2 separate regions of the Homo sapiens genome follow, and region 2 is linked to region 1. The links are contacts of gene promoters, found by promoter capture Hi-C in blood cells and fetal thymus (Javierre and others, 2016). All regions are on one chromosome and are shown on one strand. The core of a region is centred on a gene start or on the middle of the fragment in contact, and the rest is flanking DNA. Distances in the headings are between cores, read along the strand shown. Region 1 holds the start of EXO5 (exonuclease 5). Region 2 overlaps RLF (RLF zinc finger).

Region 1 (7,880 bases), core at 2,412-4,911:
TTTCAGCATAATTTCCAAATGGCATTCTTCTTCATAACCACAATACTGTCTTCCAAATGACATTCTCCTCATAACTACATTATCACATCTGACAAAATTAGTAATTCCTTAACATTCCAGTTCATATATAAATTTCCCCAACTGTCCTCAAAATGTCCTAGATAGCTTTTCTTTAATCCAGGAAACAAAGACCACACATTATGTTTGATTGTTTTGTCTTTCAAGTATTTTTTAATCTTAAGAAACTGGGCGGCCAAGCGCAGTGGTTCACGCCTGTAATCCCAGCACTTTGGGAGGCCAAGGCGGGCGGATCATGAGGTCAGGAGATCGAGACCATCCTGACTAACACGGTGAAACCTGTCTCTACTAAAAGTACAAAAAATTAGCCGGGCTTGGTGGTGGGTGCCTGTAGTCCGAGCTACTTGGGAGGCTGAGGCAGGAGAATGGCGTGAACCCAGGAGGCGGAGCGTGCAGTGAGCTGAGATCCCACCACTGTGCTCCAGCCTGGGCAACAGAGCGAGACTCCGTCTCAAAAAAAAAAAAGAAAAAAGAAAAAAGAAACTAGGCAAATTATCTTATGAAGATACTCTTTTTAAGCCTTCCTTCTAACCCCACATATCTAACCTGCATAGAGAGTAAGCAAAACAAGATACAACCAGTCCATTAGTGTTTGACTTTGAGTGCCAGGAAAATAAATAATTTGACATAGAATTTTAGCTGATAGAGATAGCTATGAACCAAATGTCCCCTTCTTGCTATTCTAATAAGCAGTGAAATAAGGTGAATGCACCAACTCCTATGTCAAAGCGTAAGAAGTGATGCCCTGAAAACGTCATTAATATCAGTTGTGGTTGTGTTTAACTGATTTTTAAATAGTCTAAATGTCACTAATGAAAGAAAACATAGATAGCTAGAAGAAAAGTTATCTGCAATGAATAAAAATAATACAATAGTAAGACTTTTGCTTATAGAGTATCCTACAACATTATTGCTTTACAGGATATTTCAATAGTAACAAAATACAGAAGCTGTGCATTTACACAAGTGTTATAAACTGTCAATGTGCTTTAAATAATTTCAAGAAACTTTATTTCAACTATGAAGTCTCTGAAAATTGGAAAGAATATTTACCCTTCACCAAGAAACTAAAGTTAAAGGGCATTTATTTTTTCTTTTCTTTTATTTTATTTTTTGAGACAGAGTCTCACTCTTTCACCCAGGCTGGAGTGCAGTGGCGGGATCTCAGCTCACTGCAAGCTCTGCCTCCCGGGTTCACGCCATTCTCCTGCCTCAGCCTCCCGAGTAGCTGGGACTACAGGCACCCGCCACCGCGCCCAGCTAATTTTTGTATTTTTTAGTAGAGACGGGGTTTCATCGTGTTAGCCAGGATGGTCTCGATCTCCTGACCTCGTGATGCACCCGCCTCGGCCTCCCAAAGTGCTGTGATTACAGGCGTGAGCCACCGCACCCAGCCCTAAAGGGCATTTATAACACATATGCTATGAGGTATTTGTGAGGGTGAGGGGGAACTCCAAGTCCAAATCAATAACCTTAAAATATTTTATTTCAAATATCTAGACCTGGCTGTCCAATATGGTAGCCATTAGTAGCCACTAGCCATATGTGGCTACTTAAATTTAATTAAAATAAAATAAAATTCACATCTCAGTTGCACTAGCCATATATTAAGTGCTCAGTAGCTACATCTGGCTGGTGGATACAGATAAGGCACAGATACAGAACATTCCCTGATCACAGAAAGCTCTACTGAACAGCATAGAGTTAGACTATTTCCTGTGTACACATTAACTCCCCAAAGAGAGAGGAAGCTCCTGAAATGTATGGAGTTCCTACTTGTTTTACATACAACATTGAGAACAGGTAGTTCTAAACAGGGAAGTGAAATGTCTTTTGGAGAAGATACAAAGCAGGGCATTCTCTGTGAAAGTATTCATCTATAAGAATAAAACAGTACACTAGGGATGGATGACTGATGCTCAGATGTGTCTGGGACTTTCCTACGCAGAAAAGAATCCAGAAGAGAGCATAATGCAGTGCATTGTGTCCCAAATTGTAGTTTGTATGTCTGACACGAGACGATTTTACATAGCACATGGACCAACATTTTTAGATACACCTTAGAATAACTATACTGTTATTGGAGCAGCCATCAAATGGCTAATTTCACAGATATTGTTTCTTAGGACAAGTTTGATTTTTATAAAAAAAAAAAGTAAGTAAAAACATAGAATAATACAGGTAGTACACAGGTATGGCAAAATTGTTAGGTAGTAAGTGAATGGGATGCTGGGAAACAGCATAATGCCAAGAGTCTGGGAGTCCTACAGATATGGATTCTAAACCTAATCCTGAGTAGTTCGGTAGCATTTAGTAGTATGCTACTTGCCTTTTGAGTAAGCTTGGACAAGGTTCTAGTTTTCCTGAAGTTACTGACACATTTTTAAAATACCTACTAACCCTACTGAGATATCCGACCATTGAGTGATAACATATAGTACGCATATTAGCACTCGATGAAGATAGATCTCCTTCTTTTTCCCCAAGGAAGAGATGAGAGAGTGTATCGATTCCCCCTGACAAAGGAGATGAAACTTTAGAAGAGAAACTCCTATTCACCTGTGACTTCGTTGATCTTCCTCCTCATAGGGAAGGCCAGAATGCTGAAATGACAAGGCTAGGGAAGAGAAAGAAGTTCTGAAAGACCAGGTCTGCATTAAAGAACCTAAATTAGCAACTTAGGTCCTTGCTATGGTAGAACCGGAACTTCTGGTCCTTTCTTACCTGACCATTCCCTCACGTTGGGTGTTTTCTCCTCTCACATTGACACTGCACAGACTGTTACCCACCCCAGATCCTAGGTTACATAACGCTCGCCTCTCTCCTGGGGCAAACTCTCTCCATGATTTCTTCGTTCCCCCGTACTCTAGATGCAATGACTTGATCCAATCCCTGCTCCCTGAAAGTAAAAGGGTCAGACATAACCAAGATCCCCAAGGAGCTCCGAGATCAGTTCCCTCTTCCAGCTCCATTCTCAACCCAGCAGCTCAAGCAAGAGACCTTATGACAGCGGCTCTTTCTCTCAGATGGGTTACTGCCTTCTGCAGAATTGCCGATGGCAACATCCTGACTTGTTCAGTGCGGCCCGGACTTGTGGGCTCCGCGGGCGTTTGCCTTCAGGGAAGATCTTTCCTCTGGCCCTAAAGCACTGTCTCCCAGGGAGTGCCATGCATGCCCTAAAGTGTACTGAGCACTTCCTACAGTTCTGGCAGAGCCAGGAATAAGAACAGGGAGCCGTCCACCTCGGGAAGGAGTCCCGGCCAACAGCACTGTGTTCCGAGGGCGAAGGTCCAGAACGGGAACCCGGCCTGTGAGGGGAGACGAGACGAGCCGCTTCCCGGGAGCCGCGCCCACCAAGGGAGGGAGACGCGGCGATCGCAGGGACAGAACCCTAAGCTCCGAAACGCAGCCTCCCAGCCCATTCTCCGGCCTTCCCCTAACCTCTGATACTCCTCCGAACCTCGGACTCCACCTGGTTTCGCCGCGGCCTCGGAGCTGCTCCCGGACGCTCCCGGCGAGGAGACTGAGGAAGCCGGGCAGAGCGCGCTGCCGGAGCGGACTACACAGTCGGCCCGCCACTCGCAAAAAAGCCGCCCAGAGCCCAGTCCCAGAGTGCCCCGCGGCTGCCCACGGACCGCCTTCCCAGAGGCCCTCGCGGCGCCGCCTACCTCGCGAGGCTGCGGCTGGGGCAGAAATCCGTCTCTGTGAGCGGAGGAGGGTGTGCTTATGCGAGAGCAGGTTTTGGGAGCTCACTAAAGCAGGTCAGTCCCTCTGTTTGCGCCGTTGTCTGTGGGTCGTTTAATTCCGGGCGCAGCTGATCTGTAACTTCCCTCACTGGCGAGGTCTCCCAGTTACCACCGGGACAATCCGAGCAAGGTCTGGGCCCCTCGCTGCCCCCGGTGAAGTGCCGCGTCTCCGCTTGGCCATCCGTGGATTCAGCATCCCCACCTTAGCACCTCCCGCCGGCTTTTCCATTGAGAGCAAAACCACGAACTCACTTTTGAGAGATGCTGGCGCTCCCCTCATCAATATTTCTTTTTTTTTTTCTGTTTGCTTACTTTTAACTAACCTTTTATTGATAAATATAACACAATTTTATTCTGAAATATAAACCAAAGATAAGTATAATTATGAACAGCCAAGTCATTAGAGCGAAAAAAGAATAGTGTCAGGTTCTTCACAGATACACTTCCTGAGAAAACCACTAGCCCGACTTTTATAACACTTTGCTTTTCTTATTTATATTTATTTATTTATTTATTTTACCAAAAGCAGATACTTGACTCTTTGCTTTTCTTTACGGTTTATCACGCATACTTGAAAACTGGATTTATGACAAAGGTGGCATCATACAGCCATGGAGAAAAGATGGTCTATTCAGTGAAGGTTCTATGACAATATGAAGGCCGGGCACGGTGGCTCACGCCTGTAATCCCAGCACTTTGGGAGGCTGAGGTGGGCGGATCACGAGGTTAAGAGATCGAGACCATCCTGGCCAACATGGTGAAACCCTGTCTCTACTAAAAAGTACAAAAATTAGCTGGGTGTGGTGGCACACACCTGTAGTCCCAGCTATTCAGGAGGCTGAAGCAGGAGAATCGCTTGAACCGGGAGGCGGAGGTTGCAGTGAGCGGAGATCACACCACTGCACTTCAGCCTGGGCAACAGAGGGAGACTCCGTCTCAAAAAAAAAAACAAAACAGAAAACAGGACCTCTATCTCTCATTTCATCACAAAAATCAATTGTAGCTGGATTAAGACCTAAATGTGAAATCCTAAACTATAAAGTCTTCAGAATATAATATAGGAAAATATCTTTGGACTTCAGAATAGGTAAATATTTTAAAACAAAAATAGAAAAACATTAAATTGGCCAGGCATGGTGGCTCATGCCTGTAATACCAACACTTTGGGAGGCCCAGGTAGGCGGATCACTTGAGGTCAGGAGTTGAGACCAGCCTGGCCAACATAGTGAAACCCCGTTTCTAGTAAAAATACAAAAAATTAGCCAAGTGTGGTGGCAGGTGCCTGTAATCTCAGCTACTTGGGAGGCTGAGGCAGGAGAATCACTTGAACCTGGGAGGCGGAGTTTGCAGTGAGCCGACAACAGGCCACTGCACTCCAGCCTGGGTGATAAAGTGAGACTCTGTCTCAAAAAAAAAAAGGAAAAAAAGAAAGAGAAAAAAGGAAAGAAAAAGAAAGAAAGAGAAAGAAAGAAAAGAAAAGAAAGAAAGAGAAACATTAAATTAAGACAACTACAGGCTGAGTGCAGTGGCTCACACACCTGTAATCCTAGAACTCTGGGAGGCCGAAGTGGGTGGATCCCTTGAGCTCAGTTCAGAAACCAGCTGGGGTAACATGGTGAAAACACGTCTCTACAAAAAATACAAAAATTAGCTGGGGGTGGTGATACGTGCCTGTAGTCCCAGCTACTCTGGTGCGTCAGTTGGGAAAATTTTGAAGTGACTTGTGTTTTAGATAATATTATCAATCAATTATAGGTCTCCTGAGTGTCATAATGATTTTGTGGTTATGTAGGAAAATGTTCTTTTTCTTAGAAATATGTAAGTTGAGGCCAGGTACGGTGGCTCTCGCCTGTAATCCTAGCACTTTGGGAGGCCGAGGCGGGCGGATCACCTGAAGTCAGGAGTTCAAGACCAGCCTGGCCAACATGGTGAAACCCTGTCTCTACTAAAATACAAAAATTAGCCGGGCATGATGGCAGGTGCCTGTAATCCTAGCTACTCGGGAGGCTGAGATGGGAGAATCGCTTGAAACCGGGAGATGGTGGTTGCAGTGAGCCGAGATCATGCCACTGCACTCCAGCCTGGGTGGCTGACTGAGACTCTTGTCTCAAAAAAAAAAAAAAAAAAAAATGGAATTTAAGTGTATTAAATAGTCTGTTCTCATGCTGCTAATAAAGACATACCTGAGATTGGGTAATTTATAAAGGAAAGAGATTTAATTGACTCACGGCTCCACATGGCGGGGGAGGCCTCACAATCATGGAGGAAGGTGAAGGAGGAGCAAAGTCACCTCTTACATGGTGGCAGGCAAGAGAGAACATGTGCAGGGGAACACACCTTTATAAAACCATCAGGTCAGCTGGGTGTGGTGCCTTATGCCCGTAATCCCAGCACTTTGGGAGGCCATGGCTGGTGGATCACCTAAGGTCAGGAGTTCAAGACCAGCCTGGCCAACATGGTGAAACCCTATCTCTACTAAAAATACAAAAAATTAGCCAAGCATGGTGGCAGACGCCTGTAATCCCAGCTATTCGGGAGGCTGAGGCAGGAGAATCACTTGAACCTGGGAGGCGGAGGTTGTGGTGAGCTGAGATCGCGCCACTGCACTCCAGCCTGGGCAACAAGAGTGAAATTCCATCTCAAAAACAAAAACGAAACAAAACAAAACCATCAGATCTTGTGAGACTTATTCACTATCACGAGAACAGCATGGGAAAGACCTGCCCCCACGATTCAATTACCTCCTACCAGGTACCTCTTCCATGATATGTGGGAATTATGGGAGCTACACTTCAAGATGAGATTTGGGTTGGGAGACAACCAAACCATATCATTGAGGAAATGCTTTTTAATCCATTGAGATATGAGAAGGCATTTCTGGATTGAGGCTACAAAAACTTTCTGCCTCTTCCCCAACATAACCTTTCTTACTTGAGATGTAAACTGAATGCCAGGAAAACCCCTCCCCAACCCCTTCACACATGGACCACTCCTCAAATGGGGTTTGAGGGGCAATGACACTGGGTAGAGTGAAGCAGAAGAGATTTAGAAACAGTCATGGAATTTGTGGGGAAAATAAATATCAAAAACATAGTACCATATATTCCCCAAAACTTTCAGCCTAAAGACTGTGGGTCTCAAAACTGAGAAAAGAATGCCCTTTTCCCCAAAAGGCTATCCTAGGAAGTCTGAGTCCTTAAGGCCCACCTGTATGCAAAAGTCACTGATTTGGTTCTTCCATCTCCAGGTCTGTAACCATCAAAATACTGTTAGACACAAATGGCCCATTTTCCTCTGTGTCCATTCTTCCCTCCTTGGTGTTTTGGAGCACAGGACTGTACCCCTAACATTGTACTGACTACAGTCTACCATATATCGGAGTAAGTCTTTATGTGATTACTCCCAGAGCTGCACTGTCCAATACAGTAGCCACTAGTCATATGTGGCTCTTGAACACTTGAAATGTGGCTAGTCCAAAATGAAATGTGCTATAATTATAACATTTACAAGCACTTTGAAGCTGAGTACAAAAAAAAGGTTAAATAACTCACTAATAATGTTTACATTGATTAAATGTTGAGATGATAATGTTTTGGATATATTGGTGATATGGTTTGGCTCTGTGTTTTCCACCCAAATCTCACCTTGAATTTTAATAATCCCCATGTGTCATGGGAGGGACCCAGTGGTAGGCAATTGAATCATGGGGACGAGTTTTTCCTGTGCTGTTCCCGTGATAGTGAATAAGTCTCACAATATCTGATGGTTTTATAAAGGGGAGTTCCCCTACACAAGCTTCTTGCCTGCTGCCATGTAAGACATGCCTGCTCTTCCTTCGCCTCCCGCCATGATTGTGAGGCCTCTCCAGCCATGTGCAATGGTGAGGCCATTAAACCTCTTTCCTTTATAAATTACCCAGTCTTGGGTATGTCTTTATTAGCAGCATGAGAACAGACTAATAAAACTGAGTTAAATAAAACATCTTAAAATTAAGCTGGGTGTGGTGGCTCATGCCTGTAATTCCAGCACTATGGGAGGCCAAGGTGGGTGAATCAC
Region 2 (7,880 bases), core at 2,341-4,840, 300 kb after region 1:
TATTTGTAAAACCCCCAAATCAATAATCAGAGCACTTCTGTGATCACTTCACAAACATGCGCAGTGTGACAAAAAAATTTGAGCCACCTGACAGGCATATTACCAGCTGAGGTCAAAGGTGATATTCTTATGAGATTTATTTCTTTTTCTTGAGTAAAACCTCCTCAGATTGCTGTAAAGCCTTTATTTTTCAGAGTTCTAAAAAAGTTAATCTTATTCACTCTCTGGTTTCAAATGGTGATTAGAACTCTTAATTTCCAGCTCAGACCTCTAAATCTCACATTGTATGAACACTGTCTGTTGTTTCTCTCCCTTTTGTCTTGTTCATTCTTGTAACCCCATTGCCCAGCAGACACCTCCAATGAATGTATACTGAATAAATGGAAGGCATTTCTGCATTATTTCTTGTAATTACATGTGAATCTAAAATTACCTCAAAATAAAATATCTAATTTTACTTAAAAAAGAAAAAGGATCACCTTGGCCACTGCAGAAAACAAATTAGGAAAAGGCAAGATTAGATACAGTTAGAAAGGTTTCAAAATAATCAGGCAATTAAACAACAGTAATAACAGGCATAAGAGGCAGCCAACTGGCATAACAGAAGGTGGGTACAGGCAGCATACTTACGTTCCTAAGTTATTTTCCTGCTTAGGCTATCAATGTAAACTAGTATTCCGGCCAGTGCCATTAATATTTTATCATTACCTTTCTCTAGAATAGTGGTTTTCAATGCAGTATTTCCCTGATTAGTTCTGAGGTATACTGAAAACAATTTGTTCCTAGTAATAGATTTTAAAAATCAAAGTTGATAAATGTTTTATTTTTTCAAAAAGGAATCAAAGTAGATTTAAGCTTATTCATATAATAATACTTCATTCACTTGCATCCTTGAGTAGAAGAAAGGTGGGAGTTACAGTTAGCAAACTTACATTTCAAGTAACCCTAGATATCTTTGGGAAAATCATCTGTTAGCTTCAAAGACATTACCTGGGAAAAAAGAATACTGACCAGTTTTAAAAACATGAGACTCCTTTTAAACTGCAGTAATGCTACAGACCAGTACTATGATGCTGCACGGACCTTGTATATTTCTTAAAGAAATAAATGGTCACCAATGCTTCCATTTAAACCCTATCACAGTGTGTATCTGAAAGAAGGCTGAAACGTCCTGCTGAATTCTTGACAATATGTCTGATCGACTCTTCATAATGACCCCCTCCAGTGCAATCATACACCAACCAAAATACCCACACATAACCCATGAAAGTAAGATCAGAAGTGAGATCCAGATGCATACAAAGTTCTGGGAAGACGTCTCTTCAAAGCTATTTGAAAGAACTGTGCTTTAGGAGATAAAATACCTAAACAAGCAAATCCTCAATTTCTTTACACAGACTTTCTGTCATTAGTGTATTCTGAGTGTATTATCTCATTCCTTGTATGATCACAAGGATAAAGTAGAAGTATTAAGACTTTCAAAATAATCAGGCAATTAAACACCAATGGTCTAACAGGCAGCCAATTAGCATAAAAGAAGGTGGTGGAGGTGGCATATTTTAAACTTAATTAAACCTTTTGTAATTATTCCTTGTTCAGAGTTCATCTTAATCTTGATTCTTACTTAAACTACATCTGGAATTTCTATACTCCTGTTTACTTTTTCTTCTACTCCCAAACTGAATTCCCACTGGGTCCTGTTTAAAGGTATCTGCTCTATCATTTATACCTAGTGACTGTGTCAATTCCCAACAGTGTTAGGCTGGTAAGTAAATTGGATCCTGTTTGTCCTTTCCTTTCCCCATCAGGAAAAGAAACAACCATCTGCTATTGTGTCTATCAACCACGTCAGATACCGAAGATGTAGTTCATTCAGGGATTAAGAATGAAACGGACCCCTGCCTTAACTGCGCCAAGAACTCTGCTGACAGATTTCTTGAGCTCTTTAAAATAGAAGTGCTTGATGTTTAAAATGTTATCTTTTCTATGTTGAAAACCTGATCTTTGCAAAGACTTCCCCTTTCAGTAATGAAAAAATATAGGAAACATCCACTTGGGACACTGAGCCACTGCCAAGTCTATAACTTTTATTAAAATCCTTTAATATGTAAAGTTAATAGCAATGTCATCTCATTCAATTCTACATAAATAAAGTATCACAACCTAAAACTCCAGGATTCCATGAAATTCTTCTGCCTTCCAGACCTACCAGATATCTGAAAGGACTCACTCTTTACCCACTAGGTTCTGAATTTTGACTTTCAGATGACCCAGTCAATTAATCTTAATTGTATGTGTCTGGCTAAATCTTCCCCAGCAGCGGTTTCCCATTACATATGCCTATTATTGGGATACCCCCAGGTACCAACATACAATGTACTTTTATTCCCAGCTGTTGCTCAAGTTAACTCTTCTCCTGAACTCAGGTGAAGTAGATGGCAAATATGTGTGTAACTCTGCTACTTTAGAACGTATGCTGAATTTAAACTCTAATTAATCAACATCTGGTGACTCACTAGTAATTTTCCAAAGCAAACTACAGATTATTTTTAATTCTGTTGACACTTGCAAAAGAAAAGTATCACTAGGATAAGAGACTGACTAGTGGCTGGGCGTGATGGCTCATGCCTTGTAATCCCAGCACTTTGGGAGGCCGAGGCGGGCGGATAACAGGAGGTCAGGAGTTTGAGACCAGCTGGTCACCAGTAGAAACGGTGAAACCCCGTTTCTACTAAAAATACAAAAATTAGCCAGGCGTGGTGGCACGTGCCCGTAATCCCAGCTACTCGGGAGGCTGAAGCAGGAGAATCACTTGAACCCGAGAGGCAGAGGTTGCAGTGAGCCGATATCACGCCATTGCACTCCAGCTTGGGCAACAAGAGTGAAACACCATCTCAAAGAAAAAGAAAGGAAAAAAAAAGACTGACTAGTTATGATGATACGATGATACTAGGGTTCCTTTAAAATAATTTTAAGATAACTTTATGTGTACTAAATGTTTTGCATTGGTATATTTAACAAATTAATCCACATCATGATAAAAATGTTTTAAATCACACCTATATGTATAAATATGAACAGAATGATATATCACCAAGATGTTCCCAATCAGACCATGGCTTATCAATGTCTAACACATGGAAATAGGTGGTAGAGTGGAAAGAAGGCTGACCAAGGAGCCAGGTGACCTGCATTCCAGCTGGGCTTGGCCTTTCTAATTAGCTTAATGCAGGAAGGGCCTTGGAAACATTATCAGCTTGGCTTCAGTTTCATCACGTGTAGAACACGGAGGGTTAGACCAACCGATATTAAACCACTGAAATAGACTGGAAAATTTAATTCTTGTAGAGCAGAGGTTAGCAAATATTTTTCGTACAAGGACAGACAGAAAATATTTTTAGCTTTTCTGGCCAGAGAGTTTCTGTTACAACTACTCACCTCTGCCACTGTAGCACAAAAGCAGCCACAGACAAGAAATGAATGTAAGACTTTGTGCCAGTAAAGCTTTATTTATAAAAACAGGTAGCTGGGTGGGTGCCAACCCCCTGTTGTGAATAGTATCAAATCGTATTTCCTATAACACAGTTCCCTGCAAACTCAACACAATCAGGAAAAATCCTGTTTCCAAACATTGTTATTAATAAACCAGGAAAGATCATGTATAAAACAAAGCTTATCATCTTCCCAGACTCTCCCTTGTCCCTCCACCCATTCTTTCTTCTAATTAGCAGCAGAGCACCACTATTCTTCCAGTCTCCCAAGCTAGAAGCCTTATGAGCCTCTTGAAGGTATCTCTGTACATCCTCCTCTGTTTTTGCCCGGTCAGCAAGTCCTGTCCTTTGTCCTCTTGCTGGCTACAATCTCTTGTCCTAAACATAATACATATTCTTTCTGTCTAGTCTTCCTAAAACACCACTTCAGACATGTCACTTCCTAACTGCAAAGCCTTCTTAATTTCTACTGCATCAAATCTAACCATTAATGCAATGGAGTTTCCAAGCCCTTCTTTTCCAACCCCAACAGGTCTTATTTCTCACAAGACTTCAATAACCACTCTGCCCTAAGCAGGGTATTTATTCTCCAGTGGATCCCTGCAAAGTACTCATTAGTACCTGTGCTTTACTACCATTCAGTCATCTCCAAACCATTCTTTCCACCCATCCAAACCCCACCATTACTTAAAGCTCCAATTCAAGGATCAATTTTTCTATAAACACAGAATTCTCTATCTTTACACTTCTACTGAATTTAGGGCAGTAATCATTGAGCTTAGTACTTCTCTTTCTGTAACTATTTTTGGCAAACAAACTGGGCCATACAGTTTGCTGTATTTGCCAATGCCTAATACAACATTAGAAACAAAACGGGTTTTAATTAAGCAAAGGCTGAGAGAGTAAAGTTGTTATTATTACAGGATGAGGAATCAAACCCAAAATGTAGTGTTTTGCTGCTGCTTTTGAATTGTTTTGGCATGTGTCAGGTGCTGAGAATAACCATTACTACATCTCAGTCTGATTAACTTTCCCAAACATAAAATACTGCAGCTGCTATTAGAGGTAAGCAATCTATCTCCTTACACTACCTGATACTGCAAATAAATAAATTAGCATACAGGTTTATAGTTGGTCTCTTATGATCGCCTTTTTTTTTTTTTTTTAAGACGGAGTCTCGCCCTGTCGCCCCAGCTCGAGTGCAAATGGCACGATCCTGGCTTACTGCAACCTCTGCCTCCTGGGTTCAAGTGATTCTCTTGCCTCAGCCTCCTGAGTAGATGGGATTACAGGCGCACACCACCACACCTGACTAATTTTTTGTATCTTTAGTAGAGACAAGGTTTCACCATGTTAGCCAGGCTGGTCTTGAACTCCTGATCTCATGATCTGCCCGCCTCGGCCTCCCAAAGTGTTGGGATTACAGGCATGAGCCACTCTGTCCAGCCCATATGACTGCTTTTAAAAATGTAGATGAAGTCATAGGAGGCTATCTCTGTGTATACCACATTGTTTCTCTGTGCAAATTCAGGTTTCACCTCTGATCAATCTTGACTTCGACGGATCCTCCCTAGTTCTGCACCCCAGGCTTAAAGAATTCTTATACTAGGGTCTATGTTTGTAAGGTGTCTAAAATATGCCAAGAACTGTGTTAAGTGCTTTAGATATTATCACATTTAAACTATCCAGCCATTTTGTGAGACGGCTACTACTGTTGTGCCTACTTTATAGATAAGGAAAATAAAGCTACCTGGCCAAGGCTGTATGGCTAGTAAATGACAATGTCAAGATTCAAGCCTACATATTTTGATTGTTGCTTTCACTTCTCTAGATGTCTTGTGAAAAACATACTCTACCTAAGCTCCTCAGTAAATCCAGTCCAGTAATGAGCCACCCACAAGCCTCAGAACTTCAAAGTCCCCTCCCATCTTTTCTGAAGTTTCCCCTCTGGGTAAACAAAAGAAATAAAAACTTGCCTGCACAACAAGTCTACTTTAAGAACCAGAATCCAGAAAGAACCAGAAGGTTGGCAGTGACAGTGAGTTGGATCATGTACATGAGATGTGTGAGTGTCAGATTAATATGTATAAAAGCAAAGCAGAGGCAGATCACCTTGGATTTAAACCCTGGGCACACCACTTACTGGACATCTTACTACTATGCGCCAGTAATATCATCTCTCAGAGCCTCAGTTAATTTCTATAAAATTCAAAGTTTTTTTGTTTTTGAGACAGGGTCTTACTCTGTCATCTAGGCTGCAGTGCAGTGGTGTGATCTCAGCTCACTGCAACCTGCACCTCCAGAGCTCAAGCAATCCTCCCACCTCAGCCTCCCGAGTAGCTGGGACTACGGCACATGCCACCACGCCCAGCTAAGTTCTGCATTTTTTTTTGTAGAGATGGGGTTTCACCATGTTGCCCAGGCTGGTCTTGAACTCTTGGCCTCAAGCAATCTTCCCTCCTCAGCATCCCAAAGTGCTGGGATTACAGTCATGAGCCACCACACCTGGCCTAAATTAATAGATTTTTATAAGGATTAGATACCGACACATTTAAAGCACACAGCACAGTGCTTGGAATAGACAAGTGAGCAATAAATGTTTTCTGCAGTTATATTTAAGATTCAAGTAGAAAGTCTGAAAAGACAGGCAGTGCAAAGCATTTTATCCTTTGATTTCTTTATCACCAGAAAGTCTAACAAATAAGAACATTTATTAATGAGGCCCTAGGTCATAGCTTCAATCCCCATTTGAGGAAACTACATGTTGTCCACTTCATAGCCACCAACTGGCTGTTTCATCTCTGCATCCCGTATCTGTGCTCCTGTGTAAGGTCATTCCCCAAAACAAAGATGACTAGCATTCTGTCTCTATCTATACTTTCCCTGCCTAGACAATCCTCTCAGATTCAAGTTACTACTAAATCTCAAAGACCAGGCCACAGTGCTTCCAAGTGGAATGTTGCTAACCCAATATCCATCCCAGAATAAAGTCTGTGAGCACTTGAAAAAATACGTTAGTTGATAGAAATGCAAAGACTACTAGGAGCCAGGACAGAATCACAAATTCCTGGAGTCAGTATTTTGGCCACTGGGAAGTATCTTAGATATAAGTACATCTTAAATTTCAACAAGGGGCCAGGCGTGGTGGCTTACGCCTATAATCCCAGCACTTTGGGAGGCTGAGTCAGGCAGATTGCTTGAGGTCAGGAGTTGGAGACCAGCCTGGGCAACGTGGCAAAACCCTGTCTCTACTAAAAATACAAAAATGAGCTAGGTGTAGTGGCGCACGTCTGCAATCCCAGCTACTCAGGTGGTTGAGGCAGGAAAACTGCTTGAACTCAGGAGGTGGAGGCTGCAGTGAGCCGAGATCACGCCACTGCACTCCAGGCTGGGCGACAGAGACTCTGTCTCCAAAAAAAACAATTTTCAACAAAAAAATCTGATAAAAGATTCTCACAGTGGGAGATATGATCTGGGCCATAGCAGGGGGTCTTAGCCATTTGAAATAACTATTGACCCAAGCACTGATCCAGGATGCAATCAACCTATACAGAAATCTGAATCACAACACTGTACTTGGTTTCATCTTGGTTCTTATTTTTATAAATATACAGATAGCATAACTATATTTCAAAATAAAATAAAGCTGAGAGAGAGAAATATAAAATCACAATTTTAAAATTCAAAAAGACCTCCAAGCAAAGTTTAAAAACTTAGAAAGCATGAGTGGAATGTTCCAGCTTTGACATTCTGGTCATAACTCAGGTAATAAAGCTAGAAATCCTAGTAACAAAAGATCAAGGGATGAGGCTATACCTTTCATTAATTCATTCAATAAGTATTGAGTGCCTACATGGCTAAGCATTCTTCTAGAATACAGGGATATACCAGTAAACAACCTATGTTCCTGTCCTTCCGGAGTTTACAATCTAGTGGGAGGAAATACCGAATAATCAAATATGATGCCTAGTAGAAGCAGTAATGTGTACTATGAAGAAAATACAAATAGGCAGAAAGACAAAGTGATAGGGGTCATTTTAAATGGGTTAGTATATATTTATAATAATGACAGCAGATATTTAGGGCAGAGTAGGGGGCTAGGGTAATATTTTAGATGAGACAGCGAGGAAGGCCTCTCTGATATGGTAATATTGAACAGACATGAGAACATTTAGAGCAGACATGAGGTAAGGGAGTAAGCCATTCAAATTATCTTGTGGAAGGCAATTCTCGTCAGAGGGAATAGCAAGCACAAAGCTCTAAGACAGGAACATCCTTGGCTTGTTCAAAGAACAGCAAAGACAAGGCGGCTGGAGAGTAGTGGGCACTAAGATTACAAGATAAGGTGAGAGAACGTTAGAAAAGTAGCCAGGGCCCATGGCACATAGA

Evidence for each region. Contacts are between HindIII fragments. The CHiCAGO score rates a contact against its expected background, and 5 or more counts as called.
Region 2: a fragment that was not itself captured here is called in contact with the fragment with the promoter of EXO5 in region 1 in 6 of 17 cell types (naive CD4 T cells, total CD4 T cells, naive B cells and 3 more); the score reaches 7.6 in naive CD4 T cells.

What each region holds. Positions count from the first base shown.
Region 1 is chr1:40,504,548-40,512,427 of GRCh38, reverse strand. It overlaps EXO5 (exonuclease 5), which reads right to left and starts at 3,661. Exons shown (of 4, transcript NM_001346953.2): 1 at 3,520-3,661; 2 at 2,803-2,977; 3 at 2,638-2,695. It overlaps EXO5-DT (EXO5 divergent transcript), which reads left to right and starts at 3,733. Exons shown (of 2, transcript NR_187365.1): 1 at 3,733-3,839. RefSeq lists enhancers at 3,255-3,344, 3,375-3,624. The HindIII fragment of the contact is 5,200 bases long and covers 2,422-7,621 here.
Region 2 is chr1:40,206,655-40,214,534 of GRCh38, reverse strand. All of the region lies in intron 5 of RLF (RLF zinc finger), which reads right to left. Among named protein-coding and RNA genes, the nearest start is that of TMCO2, 37 kb to the left of the region's middle. The HindIII fragment of the contact is 168 bases long and covers 3,507-3,674 here.